Regions from separate parts of the Homo sapiens genome. Here region 2 is linked to region 1. Evidence: promoter capture Hi-C in human tissues and cell types (Jung and others, 2019). All regions are on one chromosome and are shown on one strand. The core of a region is centred on a gene start or on the middle of the fragment in contact, and the rest is flanking DNA. Distances in the headings are between cores, read along the strand shown.

Evidence for each region. Contacts are between HindIII fragments. The study calls those that stand out against the background at their distance.
Region 2: a fragment that was not itself captured here is called in contact with the fragment with the promoter of OPN5 in region 1 in 1 of the 25 tissues and cell types used here (dorsolateral prefrontal cortex).

Annotation. Positions count from the first base shown.
Region 1 is chr6:47,776,868-47,784,369 of GRCh38, reverse strand. OPN5 (opsin 5) reads right to left here and starts at 2,338. Exons shown (of 7, transcript NM_181744.4): 1 at 2,174-2,338. The coding sequence starts at 2,303. The HindIII fragment of the contact is 6,027 bases long and covers 1-5,806 here.
Region 2 is chr6:48,452,378-48,459,626 of GRCh38, reverse strand. No RefSeq gene overlaps it. Among named protein-coding and RNA genes, the nearest start is that of PTCHD4, 340 kb to the right of the region's middle. The HindIII fragment of the contact is 3,819 bases long and covers 1,161-4,979 here.

The DNA of each region.
Region 1 (7,502 bases), core at 1,089-3,588:
AGCCGAGATCGCACCACTGCACTCCAACCTGGGTGACAGAGTGAGACTCTATGTCCAAAAAAAAAAGGAATCTTGCAACATCTACACTAGCCTATTCTAGGAGAGTGAAAACCAGACACACGGCCAAGTCCAAGAAGTGGATCTAGGGTGAGTCCAAACCCCTCCAGTCGACCCCTCTCCTCACCCTGCGTGACTGTTCTCTAACATACCATTGGCTCCACCTCCTAGTGCCCTGATCCTCCTGAAGCTCCCCCTGTCCAGGGACTCTTTTTCAACCTGTTTTTCTGGCTCCATCTCAGCAAACCCACTGGAATATGATTGTGGACTTTCCTTCCAACTCCATGTGTATCAGGTGGGAAATTCTCCTGATTTCCTCACCCTGGTTGCAATCCTCCTGCAATCCTCCCTGCTTAAGATTGGGAATGGACTGATAGGCCTCTCTGTTTTGTGTTGTCTGGAGAGATTTGTCAGGTTATTGATGTTACTTTTTTAATTCATTCCTTGAAAGTGATGGAGCTATGCTAAATACAATTGATCAAGTTGCTTATTTTTCTGCCTTTTCTGTTAATTGAAAGTACTTAAGTTTAATAAAAATGCAATGTGGATTTTACAGAGATAAGACAGTTTCTGTTCCAGCAGAATGTTTGCCCATTTTATTCTCTGCTCTATTCCCAGCAACTTAAAACAGTGGCAAAGAGTGGGCGCTCAATATATATTTATGTTGAAAAGAGATGGGGACTCATTTATAAGAAACAGAATTTAAACTAGTAAAACACTAACAACAATAAAGACAAAGACCCAGGGAATCACTTTACAGCAGAATTTGGTTGAATCACATGAGTTCCTTTTGCCTCAAGTACTGACCATAGAGGGATATCAAGTATTTTCTAATGAGTTTTGCTACTTTCAGGAGGTTAAATGAAATTCTTAGCCAGTAATAAATAGATGAGAGAGGGAGAAAAAGAGAGAAAGGGAGGAAGGGAAGAAGGGTGGAAGAGAAAGATAGAAACAAAGAGAAAAGAGAGAGAGAGCAAGTTTGACCCAACATCTGAAAAAATTAAAGGCAAACAAACCTAAAGACATAACCCACCTTCACACTGGTCACCCAAAGTTAAAACAACAATTTTAAATTTAAGAAAAGTATGGTTTCTTTTCTTAAATTTAAATAGGTGGTTAAATTAAATCCTAACTGTCTAGATTAGTGCTATCCAGTATAAATGTAATGTAAGCCAGAAATGCGAGCCACATATGGATTCTAAAATTTTCTGGTAGCCACATTAAACAAAGTAAAAATTTACAAAGTAAAAATTTAATTTATAAATTTAAAATTTACAGTAAATTAATTTTAATAATATATTTTATTTAGCTTAACATACCTAAAATGTTGTATGTTCAACATGTATTTAATTTTTAAAAATTATTAATGAGATATTTTATACCACTTTTTGTTGTACTGAGCCTTCAGTATCTGGTGAGTATTTACACTACAGCAACTTTCAATTTGGAAAAGCCACATGTGGCTACTGAATGAATGAGATCATGCAGTCTAGAAGCAGGTGCACCCTTTCGTCAATTATGCACAAAAATCTTTTGACCCCGGACTTTCTTCCATTTATCACCAACACATTTTTCAACTGTCACCAAAATGGCTTAGCTATTTTGATGCGACTTTACTTTTAGGTGAAGTAAACTCAGTGTTTCTGCCATTACTATAGTACTATAGCACAATAGCACAATTGAGTTTTGCACAGTTGTGAGAACAGGAGACTGACCTAGATTATTTTTAAGGCCCATTCTCAACCTAAAACTTATGATTATGTCAAAAACATTATTTAAAAAGCACTCTGTTTAAATAAAATATCATTATCATTAATTTTGGTATTCAGAAAGTAAATCTACTCCCAAAGTAACCAAAATGAAATGGATAAATAATTTTGCTGTAAGAGTTCTTGGATTATCAATGGAATTTTATTCCTAATAATAATGATAATAAAGAGTCATTTCTAGGAAACATTTATTGAATGCCATAATGCCATTCCATCTTCTGCCTTTCCCCACTCTTCGCCTCCACTAAACTATCCACTTAAGTATCAGAATCCTTTCACAAAATTAACATATCAGCCCATGAATTTTCTAAATGCAGCCTTTGCACAGAAGAATTAAGGAAGCTTACCAATTATTGTTAGGTAAAAGCCAGCCACTAAATCCGCTTCCCAAGAAAGTTTGGAAGCAAAAGGATCCCCATCTCGAAGGTAATGGGGCAGGCGCTCGTCCTGAGGCAGGGCAGTGTGATTTAACGCCATTCTGTTCTCGAACCACGAGGGATCTGAAAAGCAAACCAGTAGAGATCTCAGCAGACCTGAATAAGCCAGCTTGAACCATTTCATAATCGTGGCTCCTGTTTTAAAACAAAAAGCAAGTTCCCAGGGTCATGCATGATTCTCTAATTAATAACTGGTAAAAATTTTAACATTTTTTTCAATGATCCAATTATGTCATTACTCAGTTATTCGGTTGGCAGATTATCCAAGCCTTCATTTTCTCCTCTGTTTTCTCATGCTACTCTTTGAGCCACTTCTTTTCTCCTTGGGGTGATTAAAAGGTTGAAGGCCAAACTGTGCAATTTACTGTTTCTTAGCAATTTTTGTAAAGGTCTGAGCAGGAAATGATATTGTATGGAGTGTGCACACATACACACACACACACTATATATATATAATTTATGTATATAAATTATATATAATATATAAAAAATTTACATATGTATATATATAACTTGTCAGAATATAGTATTTTTTGATTATCCAGATTTCCCAGAAAATCATTTCCATTGTACATTCAATGAGGTTTAGAGTTTTGTAAGGAAAGAAATAGAGCATTCAGTACAAAGGAACATGGACACTTAATTAATTGAAGCTAAGAGCTAGGTGATTGTCAAAGTGATCTTGAAATTTGGAGCTATTTAGAAAGGATTCAAGCTGGGTTGTAACTCACAGGCACATCCACAGGAAGGTTTGTTTCTCAAGTTTCCTAGAGCAGAAAGCAATTTCATTATTTCTCACCACTGCCCCAAATCCATACTTTCTATTTGCTCATTTATGCTTCTGGATGAAATCTTGAGCATTGAGGAATTTCTCAGATACACAGGTCTTAGTACTGTTTCTTTTGAATTGGAGTTTTAAAAGGTTTACACAAAGTCTTTGATGGGCTTTCTGCAAAAATAAAAGTCACATGATATCCCTCATCCTGAAACTTGGAGTCGTGTGTTGTTCTTCAGATAAAGTATGCTGCTGATGTTAAAACTTCCTTTGGAAGGGTCATTCCTTTGTCATGATTGTTCCTATTTGTTTTGAAAGGGGAAGAAATACTAGTGTGGCTGTTTCTCTTTTGAACTTGCCTATTTCAAATCGAACCAACAGATGTCACTGTTCAGCTCTCTAGGCAACAATTTCGGGCATTATATGAGACAGCAAGTGGAACACAGAGTTGTGTGCCCCACAGGCGGTGACAGGGTGATCGGCACATATCTAACCATGTAATTCACCTTCGCAAAAGACATGAATTTAACCCCTTTCTAACTGCCAACTTACAGCTTACAGAGGAAGGCTAGTGACCCTTTCAGTGGCCAGTTGGCTGAAACTACAGTCTCCTACACACAGTTTGAGGACAGTCATGTGCTAATGTTCATTCCAAATCCTTCTCCCTGAGATGGTTAGAAAGCTGTAGGAGAAATCTTTGGCTGCCAGATGCACCACATCCCAAGACCTACCCCAGGTGAAAGTTTATCTTTACCTTTCAAACTCCTGATTCCCCTTTGACTGCCTCTTGTTCTGGTAAACTCTCTCCTCCCCAAAGATTGCCCCCGCCCAACTGGCTGTCCAGTCCTGTCCTCCACCTTAGCTTCAGAATCATAAGATGAAGGTTGGAGTCCAGCTGTGATACCCACCCTCTGATCTTGAGCAAATCATTTAAACTTTCTGAACTGCAACCACTTCATCTGTAAAATGGGCAGTCTCCTTCTTACCTGTCACTCATGCTTGTTGTAGGAGCAATAGGATATCGGACTCGAAAGCATATTATGAATGGGGGGTCCTGTATATTTATTATATGCTGAGATGCTTACTTTTCCCAAACTTGCCTATCCATCAAGATATAGCTATTGTATAAGAGATTTCCTCAGGGTCCCATGCTGAATCAATGGATGCTTGTGTGTTAACTCAAGTATTCACTGAACATCTACTACAAACCCAGCATTATGAGGTAGGACAACAGAGGTTTACCATGTTATCTAGACTTAGGGAGGGTATCTATCATTTTCTGGACAGAGAAAAGATGCAACTAATGGTCAGAAAATATAATAATAATACAAGAATATAAAACAATAAAATGCTGCTTTACTTGGTTTTAGAGAATTTTTTTGAGATAGGGTCTCACTCTGTTGCCCAGGCTGGAGTGCAGCGATGTGATCAGTGCTCACTGCATCCTCGACCTCCTAGGCTCAGGTGATCCTCCCAACTTAGCCTCCCGACTAGCTGGGACCATGGCACACGCCACAACACCTAGCTAATTTTTTTTATTATTATTATTTGTAGAGACAGTATCTCTCTATGGTTCCCAGGCTGATCTCAAACTCCCGTCCTGGGGTCAAGGGCTCCTCCCACTTTAGCCTCCCAAAGTCCTGGGATTACAAGTGTGAGCCACTGAACCTGGCCTAGACAATAATTTTTAAAGCAAGGAAATAATACTATTTTCTGAGGAATTAACTAGACTGTGTGTGTAATATCAAGAAGTGTCCTTCCTATATCGAGAAGTACCCAGGCCTTGCACAGCCTAAGACTCGATATGTTAATAATGAAAATGATAACATAAAACTTCACTTGAGCCCCCAAGGGGCTTTAATAAGCAACGAAAACAGTAGAGAATATTTTCAGTAAGAAAATGACATGAGCTAAGATTTGGAGGAAAAAATGAACATAAAGTGTATAAGGGATGGAAAAAGAGTTGTTCCATGGGAACAGAGTTCATCATGGAGAGAAGTGGTAGCCATCTTGGCTTGGTAAAATGGGATCTTGTCCTGTAGAGCCTTGCCTGCCTGGCAGAAGAGTTGCTTTTGACATATCATAGGTGGACTTATTTTTTTTCTGACACTGATCAAAATTAATGCTATTGTTTAAGTTTGGAAATACAGTGTTTGAGAGTTTCTAGTTCTTTTCAAAGACACAACTTAGACACAACTCTTCCTGAGGAACACTGCGAGAAAGAGGCAGAGAATCCTAAATACATGGTTATTTGGGAATTCTTTTTTTTTCCACTCTTCTTTATACATTACAAACTCATTTTTCAACTTCACACTTTACACTTATTTTCCCCATATGTAATTTGTGTTCCATTTCTTCTCAGTCTATCCAAATTCCACTTGACCTTCAAGCTTTTATCCAAAGTCTACATCCTTCAGAATATAAAACTGGCTCCTTCAGTCACTACTAAAATACTCCTAGGAGAAATTAATCCACTTAATTTACCTAATTCTTCCTCTGGTTTACCTACACATGAGTAAAATAACTTTCAGTTCATAAAGAAATTAGAGGTACCAGTGCATAGTATGGGATCATTATCATTATTTTGTTGAGGTGCTATTTCATCATTGATACAGAATTATACTTTTTGCTGAAAACAGGCTATAGCAATGCAACCATCATAAATATTTTTGCAGAACACTAACTGTACTACTTAAAATAATAAATGCAACACATAGTCATGACTGAATTTGTTCAGAGATATGTTTTAGAGAGTTTCTTTTTCAGTATTGAATGTGCCTGAATTACCTCATTGTGTAAATAAAATAGTCATTTGTCGATTCCTTCCCTCTTTTACCTCCTGTATTTGAAGATTGCCTACCGCCCATAGTAGATAGATGCTGTCCTATCTACCTTCCCAGGTGGTCAGGGCCCTCAACACCACATCCCCCAGTTCCCTGGGATGGCATCCTATGATCAAACCAATGGTTCCCAATCAGCTGCATATCTGAATCTCTTATGTACTTATTTTTTATTTTTTGTATATTGTTATTGTTGTATTTTGTATTGTAGCTATTCTTTAGGTACTGTAGTCTGGGTACAACTTCCAGGGTCTATGATATTATTTCCAAGAGGATCAGTTTGTCGAATTTTGTAACCATGGAAGCTTGCCTTTCTTGCACAATATTTCATGGCACTATTGCTTGGGAAACAACATATGGGGGTTGGAGGAAAGTATCCTGTTTAAAAGTGGAGGAGAAACTAAATGACTTGTCAAAATTTCTGCTGAATTTATGATTCTGTGAAAGATATAAATGAAACTTCTTGGAGTAAGTTGTATGTGATTATTCATGTTAGCATAATCCTTTAAGCCATAAAATATACTCCACTGCTCTCACATCTGCTAATCAATGGTCTTTTGGACCATGAATAAATCTTCCTAAGACTGTTCTCATAACAGCTTATTATGGAAAAAGCTGAAAACATCTCCACTCTTCATCACCCATAAAAGTTTTAAATATCTTTTGAGTTACCAGAATTAGCCATTTAAAATCCTGTATTATTCCACAATGAAAAATTAAAGAATATCTTTAGATGTAGCCAGAAGTCCTCATGTCCAAATTGAATGGACTTACAAATAGGTATAAGCAAATACGGAAGAGAGAATGGCACAGGTTCCCCTCCTAACAGGAAATAAACACAAGTTCGTACCAAGAAACAGAGTCCAACTCTGTTAGACTCTATCTAGTCTTAAAATTATCTTCAAAAAATATTTGGCAATAAATTTCCCCTTGACCTGCTAAATTTTCCCTGGTTTAATGCAGGAAATACCAAAAAGCATGGGCAGTGTGGAGAGCCACTTATGCAAGGTGAAAGTGACCTGCCCAAAATGGTCTTCTCCACTGGCCTGCTCTGGCTTCTGAAACTTTTGCCATTTTTTGCCTGAAGCATCATCACCACGAAATTTCTTTCTAGGGATATACTATCTGAGAACATGAAATTTGAATCTACCGGAATCCATGAAAACTTCAACATAAAGTAGTTTCTGAAATTAGTTACTTGAAACCTAGTAGAAGCCAGCAGACCTCAAAATAGGTGTAAGATGGTGCAGAGTAAGTTGGAAACAAACATCGAAGGCCAGGAAATGTTCAGGAAGTTAACAAAGAAACACCCACGAACTAGAGAGATGTCCAAGAAAGGTAAGCAGATAATATTCAATATCTCGAGGTAAAATGTGCTCAGTGTTAAGCCTGATAAAATGTAAGTAAGGAAACATAGTTTATTAAAAATTCAGAAATCCTTTAGCTGGTTTACACAGGTCTTTAACAAGTGGGTGATTGCCCATTTCCACTACTGTTCAAAAGGATTACCCACAATAAGCCTACAGGAAAAAGGATTTGTGGTCAGATTCATTTTTATACCAACTTCAGAAATTTGTGCCAGCCTCTAGGCTGGTGTCTTATGATAAGGGACCAACAATTCAGG
Region 2 (7,249 bases), core at 1,821-4,320, 670 kb before region 1:
AGAATCGAAAACTAAATTATGGCTTCTGACTTTGTGACTTAAAGCTATATAACTTTACCTCTCTCACTTCCAACTTTCCAATCTTTAGAAGAAGATATGACTAACGCAGGAACAGAAAACCAAGTACTGCCTGTTCTCACTTATAAGTAGTAGTTAAATGATGAGAACATATGGGCACATAGAGGGGAACAACAGACACTGGGGTCTACTGGAGGGTGGAGGGTGGAAGGAGGGAGAGGATCAGGAAAAATTACTAATGGTTACCAGGCTTAATACCTGGGTGACAAAATAATCTGTAAACAAAACTCCATGACACAAATTTACCTATATACCAAACCTGCATATGTACCCCTGAACTTAAAAGTTACAAAAAAGATATGATTTCTCCCTCAATTTCAGAATTTTTGCTAAGTCAATGCAGCAGTATTTCAAAAAGTACACTGTACATTGAAAGATTTCCTGGAAATACTTTATAATAATTCTTCATGATAATGTTGATGATAATGACATAATGACTGATGTTCATCATGTAGAGTAATTCTCTGATATAGAAAAAGAAAATATTTCTTAATAAAACTGGTATTTTATGATATAAAAATATGTAAATAAATAAAAGTCAATCAGAAGATCCTTACACACATTTGTCCTTTAGTAACACTTAATGGATGAAGTATAGAGATGAATTCACTATTAAAATTATTCACAGTTCAGATATCTATGCTTTAATATGATATCCACCAAACATTATATAGTTTTCCTGAATTACATTCTCGATTTAATAAAAAATTTCTGTATTTATATGACTTGTTGATTTGTGTTTGTTCATTGGCTTTTTTAAAGATATTAGGATGAGCAAACATTTTTAAGCATTATTCCACATCAGTTGGTTTCCAACCATTTTTTTTTCCTGTGCACAAATTTAATATTTATTTTAAAGCATTAGCTGACTTCTCTTAAATATCTTACCATTAAAGAAGCTGAACGTTAGTTCTGTCAACAATCACTTTGTTCTCCATCTCAGAATTTTACTTTAGGAAAGAAGAAAAAATGCAGCTAGACTAAATTTGTTAGTGAACATTCAATTGGATAAATAAGATCTGTTAACATATTAGAAAACAGGCAGACTCATTGGGATATGAATACATTTTAAATTGTATTATTTACTGTGGTAAAAAGCATGACTCTTTAAATAAGTGGCAGATTTGAAATACATTAGATGCAAGCAAGCATTTTTGTATATCCAGTAAAATATAATTTGGGAATTCGTTTCCTGAAATATAATAAATTCTATTCCTTTGTGAAGTTATGATATATGTGCTGTTTATTTGACATTGCATCCAACTTAATTTGACTCTGTAGAAATCCCCAAAATTATTTATTTGTTTATATTTGTAAACTTCATCTAAGCAATAAACCAGCCCATATGGCATCCCAATAGGACCTTGAAGTGACAGTGAGACTATAAACAGAATAGATTAAATTTGCATTGTGCGTATTTGCAGTTTTAGTCTTTGCCAAAATAGAGAATTAAGTTTATTGGAACATTCTTTTATCATACTTAGCAGCTGAAAGATGAATTTGAATTTCTAGCACTTATATACAGCCTACCCTGTGAAATATAAAACTATTTCAAATAGGAAGTGGATCAAAAATTACAATTTGGTGGAGTCACAAATTACAGTTAAACAAGTTAACATTCACTCTCCAACTTAATTATTTTATCTAAATGTATTTTTATTTTAGTCTGATAATCAACGTATCTATTATTTACTTTTTATTTTACAGAGGTCTAATTTGAGTGAAAGCTAATCATGAATTTGACCTATAACCTACTTTCACATATATTATTATATGTAATCATCTAAATATTCATATGAATAAGGTAGGACATATATTACTGTTCCTATTTTCTCAAGCAAACACCGAAACTCAGATAGTTACTGATTTGTGCAAGGTGGGCAACTAACTAGGCAGAGCCCAAATACTATTCCATATCATCTGATTTCAAATCTTTTTAAATTTTTCATCTTTTCATTCTCACGGCTGCCTGTCAGTGCTCAATTATTTTCCATATAAGAATGAAGAGGGGAAGGGCAAGCAAAATAATAATAATAAAAATAATCCTATATTGGCTCTATCTACAAATTTATATTTCTCTTTTCTGTAAAATACAAGTTTCAAGAGAGAAATTTCCTCAATTGCTGCGTTTAACTGTCTTCCATATACTCTTCAAGATACTACACTCAGGTACCACTTTAGTGATTTCCTAATTACCAAATGCTTTTTTTCACCCTATTTTATGTGACTTATCTGCAGCATTTCACACCTTATCGCTCTCTTCCTCTTGAAGTTTCCTTCTCTGGCCTCTGCTTCACCACTGTTTTTGACTGTTGGTGCTTCCCCTTTGACTCTCATCAATATTCACATTGCATGTTCTCTCAATTATTTCTTGCATTTGTATGTCAACAGCTACCACCTAGAAACTAGTAACTCAGTGGCAGAAATAATTAACTAAAATTCATGATCTCTCAATCGAATACAGTGTTGTCAACTAAGATACAGGTATGCAGCTGGGTTCTTATTTCCCAGCTCTATGAGAAACACTGCCAATGTCACCTGAGTGCATACATAGTATCTTCTTGGCTTTTAACTAGATGTGGCTTCTCCAAGTACTTGTTCCTCTTAGAATGACCTTTCCACACCTCTGACTCTCATCCAACTCCATGCTGTTGGCAAATGCCTATTTGACCTTTAAGACTCAGTTTGGGGCCATCTTTCCAACGCATACTTTCATTGCCAGTAAAGCATTCTTGGGATCATCTATCTTGGTTTCTATTTCACTTTAGTAGTTGCTTGTATTATTATATTATACTATAAGCTTTTCAAAGTCAACGATCACATATTAATTAGTGTTTCATCCCCATCATCTAGAATAGTACCTGGTACATAATAAAAATTAAATACTTGTTTGTTATATCAATGAATGCTTTCCTACAGCTATTTCTGGTACCATAGTATGGACTCCCTAATGTAACCTGAGTAAAAGTGTTGTATGATTTCTTTTGCTGTCTCATACTGTCTCATTCCCCAAATTTTTTATTCCATATAAAATCATATGAGTACTTTTATCTATTAACAGTATGGGGAAGATTCTAGGAATTTGACATTTTTCAAATTACATTTTCAAAATAAGATCTACTGATTAGTGTGAATATACACTCAATGTGTGGTGGAAAATGTAGTGTAGTAAAGGAATGAAATGTCATAAATGCATCATTTCTATTTACATAAGATAACTACAATTATAGGGAACTAGGGAGGTTTTGGGTTTTTTTCCATCACTGCTTAGCACACCTCACATGTATGTTTATATGCCTTTGCCTACTTGCTTCTCAGGACATTTTCAAGAGCGATTTATGGAAGAGAGAAGTTACCATCAGGAAAGGAAGAAATTTAGCCATCCCCAGTGGGTCAAGGAAGACCCACAAAGGAAACAACTGATCATCTTGATCACTTCAACTTTGGATACATTTCTCAGTGGGTCAATTCTTATGATGCTTTTCTTTATCTTATACTGTATCTCTATATTTTATTATCTCCAAAGCATCATCATCAGCTATAATTTTTTAATAATTTGCAATGAATTTTTAACCAATTGATGCAATTAATAATTACGAAGAAAATCTACTCATTCTGTTTAGTACTAAATGTATCTATCTATATTAATTTATGCAAAAAATATGTAAGGATACTGTGCATATAAAAGTCTATTTCATAAATGCTATCGATAACTGCCTTGTTAGTAACCCATTTTTTATGAGATGACAAAGAATCCTCAGAATAAATTCTGATGGTTTCCTTATGGCAGTGTGACTTTGATATACAACAAACGCTGGGATTTATTTGAGCCTTGTGATGAGAAATGAGTTTAGATGGAACAGTTAATCTTATGTTTATCTCTTCACTACTCAGAGCTCTAGATTTTAGATGATTTATCTTGCAGCCAGTTCTAATTCCAGTTGGATGAGAATGCTCCAGGTGAATGGGAAAAAGTTTACTGCACCTCAAAGTTCAGCAGTCCATTTGTTTCATCTTGTTGCCCATTTCCTAAGTGGTTCTGTTGGACGTTATGGCTTTGGAAGCATAAATCTGTTATATAATTAGAGCTTCGTGTATCTTATGACATATATCTTCACTTTGCAGCATTGCCCCTTCAAAAGCACTCTTCCCCATCTTTTTTTAAATCGTGTTTCGGTCAAAATTCACTATTTGGTAGCTTTTCAATTGATGAGTATTTGGTGTCCCCAACAATACTGCCAAGCTTATATGAACTGTGCCTGAGGCAATCTGATAGGAATCCTGTTTACATATGTTCATACTACCTATTTTATTTTTCAGGTGAGCAATACATTCGTATTTTAATCAGATAAAATAGCTATTTGCCAAAATTGAAAAAATAACTTCAGTTTTCTATCAGTTCAATTGCATTAGATGCAAATAACAGATTAGTTTATTTAAACTGTCTAACAACGATGGCAAGTTATATGTCCATGTAAGTGTATGTCCTGAGGTAAGGCTTCAGACAAGTACAATCTTGTAGCTCAGTGATATTACCAAAAACCCTGGTTGTTTCTATCCATTTCCTCATTTTCCCCATCAATTTTGCCTTATCCTAGTGGTGGTTACCCTGAGTAGGCAAAGATAATAGTCAGAAATCTCCAGGACTACAAGTTTCCTGGTTCATCGGCAGTGAGAAAGGGATTGACAGTCTGTTCCCAGGATTTCCAGCAATCTATGAACAGTCCACCCTGAACAAAAAGACTTAGGTCTGTGTGCACAACTAAATCTACAGCTTAGGGGATTATAAAATGTGGATTGGTGTACTCTTTTGTTGCTGCATTCCTAAATCAGTAACTCTAGCCCCCGCCCCAAAAATGAAATCCAGCCCTTTGCAACAACATGGATGGAACTGATGATCATTATATTAAGTGAAATAATCCAGGCACAGAAAGATAAACTCACATGTTATCACTTATTTTGGAGATCTAAAAATCAAATGAATTGAACTCATGGACACAGAGACTAGAAGGATGGTTTTAAGAGGCTGGGAAGGGTAGTGGGGAATTGGAGGGGAAGTGGGGATGGTTAATGGGTATAAAAACTTAGAAAGAATGAGTAATACCTACTATTTGATAACACAATAGGGTGCCTATAGTCAATAATGACTTAATTGTATATTTTAAAATAACTTAAAGAATATAATTAGATTCTTTGTAACTCAAAGGAAAATGCTTGAGAGGATGGATCCCCCATTCTCCAGGATGTGCTTATTTTCCATGCATGCTTGTATCAAAACATCTTATGTATGCCAAAAATATATACACCTACTATGTACCCACAAAAAATTTTAAATATTATTTTTAAATTCTTTATTTCCATGGGTTTTGGGGAAACTGGTGGTATTTGATTACATGAATAAGTTCTTTAGTGGTGATTTGTGGGATTTTGGTACACCCATCACCCCAGCAGTATACAACGAACCCCATTTGTAGTCTTTTTTCCCTCACACCCCTCCCACCCTTTTGCCTAAGTCACCAAAATCCATGTATCGTTCTTATGCCTTTGCAACCTCAAAGCTTAGCTCCCTCTTATGAATGAGAACATATGATGATTGATTTTCCATTCCTGAGTTACTTCACTTAGAATAATAGTCTCCAGTTGCATCCAGGTTGTTGCAAATGCCATTAATTAGTTCCTTTTTATTGCTGAGTAATATTCCATGGTGCATATATATATATATATATATATATATATATACACACACACACTTTTTTTCTTTATTCACTCATTGATTGCTGGGCACTTAGTTCGGTTCCATATTTTTGCAACTGCAAATTGTGCTGCTATAAATATGCATGTGTGTTTATCTTTTTCATATAATAACTTATTTTTATTTGAGTAAATACCCAGTAGTGGAATTGCTGGATCAAATGGTAGTTCTACTTTTAGTTCTTTAAGGACTCTCCACACTGTTTTCCATAGTCTTTGTACTAGTTTACATTCCCACCAGCAGTGTAGAAGTGTTCCCTTTTCACCACAACCACACCAACATCTACTGTTTTTAATTTTTTTTTATTATGGCCATTTTTGCAAGAGTAAGGTATTGGGAACAGGCCCCCCCAAAATCTGGCCATAAACTGGCCCCAAAACTGGCCATAAACAAAATCTCTGCAGCACTGTGACATGTTCATGATGGCCATAATGCTCACGCTGGAAGGTTGTGGCTTTACTGGAATGAGGGCAAGGAATACCTGGCCCACCCAGGGCCGAAAACCACTTAAAGGCATTCTTAAACCACAAACAGTAGCATGAGCGATCTGTGACTTAAGGACATGCTCCTGCTACAGATAACTAACCCAAGTCATCCTTTTATTTCAGCCCTTCCCTTTGTTTCCCATAAGGGATACTTTTAGTTAATCTAATATCTATAGAAACAATGCTATGACTGGCTTGTGGTTAATAAATACATGAGTAAATCTGTTTGAGGCTCTCAGCTCCGAAGGCTGTGAGACACCTGATTTCCCACTTCACACCTCTATATTTCTGTGTGTGTGTCTTTAATTCCTCTAGCGCTGCTGGGTTAGAGTCTCCCCGACCGAGCTGGTCTTGGCAGTAAGGTAGTATCATATTGTGATTTTGATTCTCATTTCCCTGATCATTAGTGATATTGAGCATTTTCTCATATATTTGTTGGCCATTTGTATATCTTCTTTTGAGAATTGTCTATTCACATCCTTAGCCCACTTTTTGATGGGATTGTTTCTTTCTTTCTTGCTAATTTGTTTGAGCTAGTTGTAGATTCTGGATATTAGCCCTTTGTCAGATGTGTAGATTGTGAAGATTTTCTCCCACGCTATGGGTTTTCTGTTTACTATTCTGACTGTTTCTTTTGCTGCACAGAAGCTCATTAGTTTAATTAAGTCCCATCTATTTATCTTTGTTTTTGTTGCATTTGCTTTTGGGTTCTTGGTCATGAAGTCTTTGCCTAAGCCAATGTCTAGAAGGATTCTTCCAAAGTTATCTTTTAGAATTACATAGTTTCAGGTTTTAGATTTAAGTCTTTTATCCATCTTGGGTTGATTTTTGTATAAGGTAAAAGATGAAGATCCAGTTTCATTCTCCTATATGTGGCTTGTCAATTATCCCAGCACCATTTGTTGAGTAGAGTGTCCTTTCCTCACTTTATGTT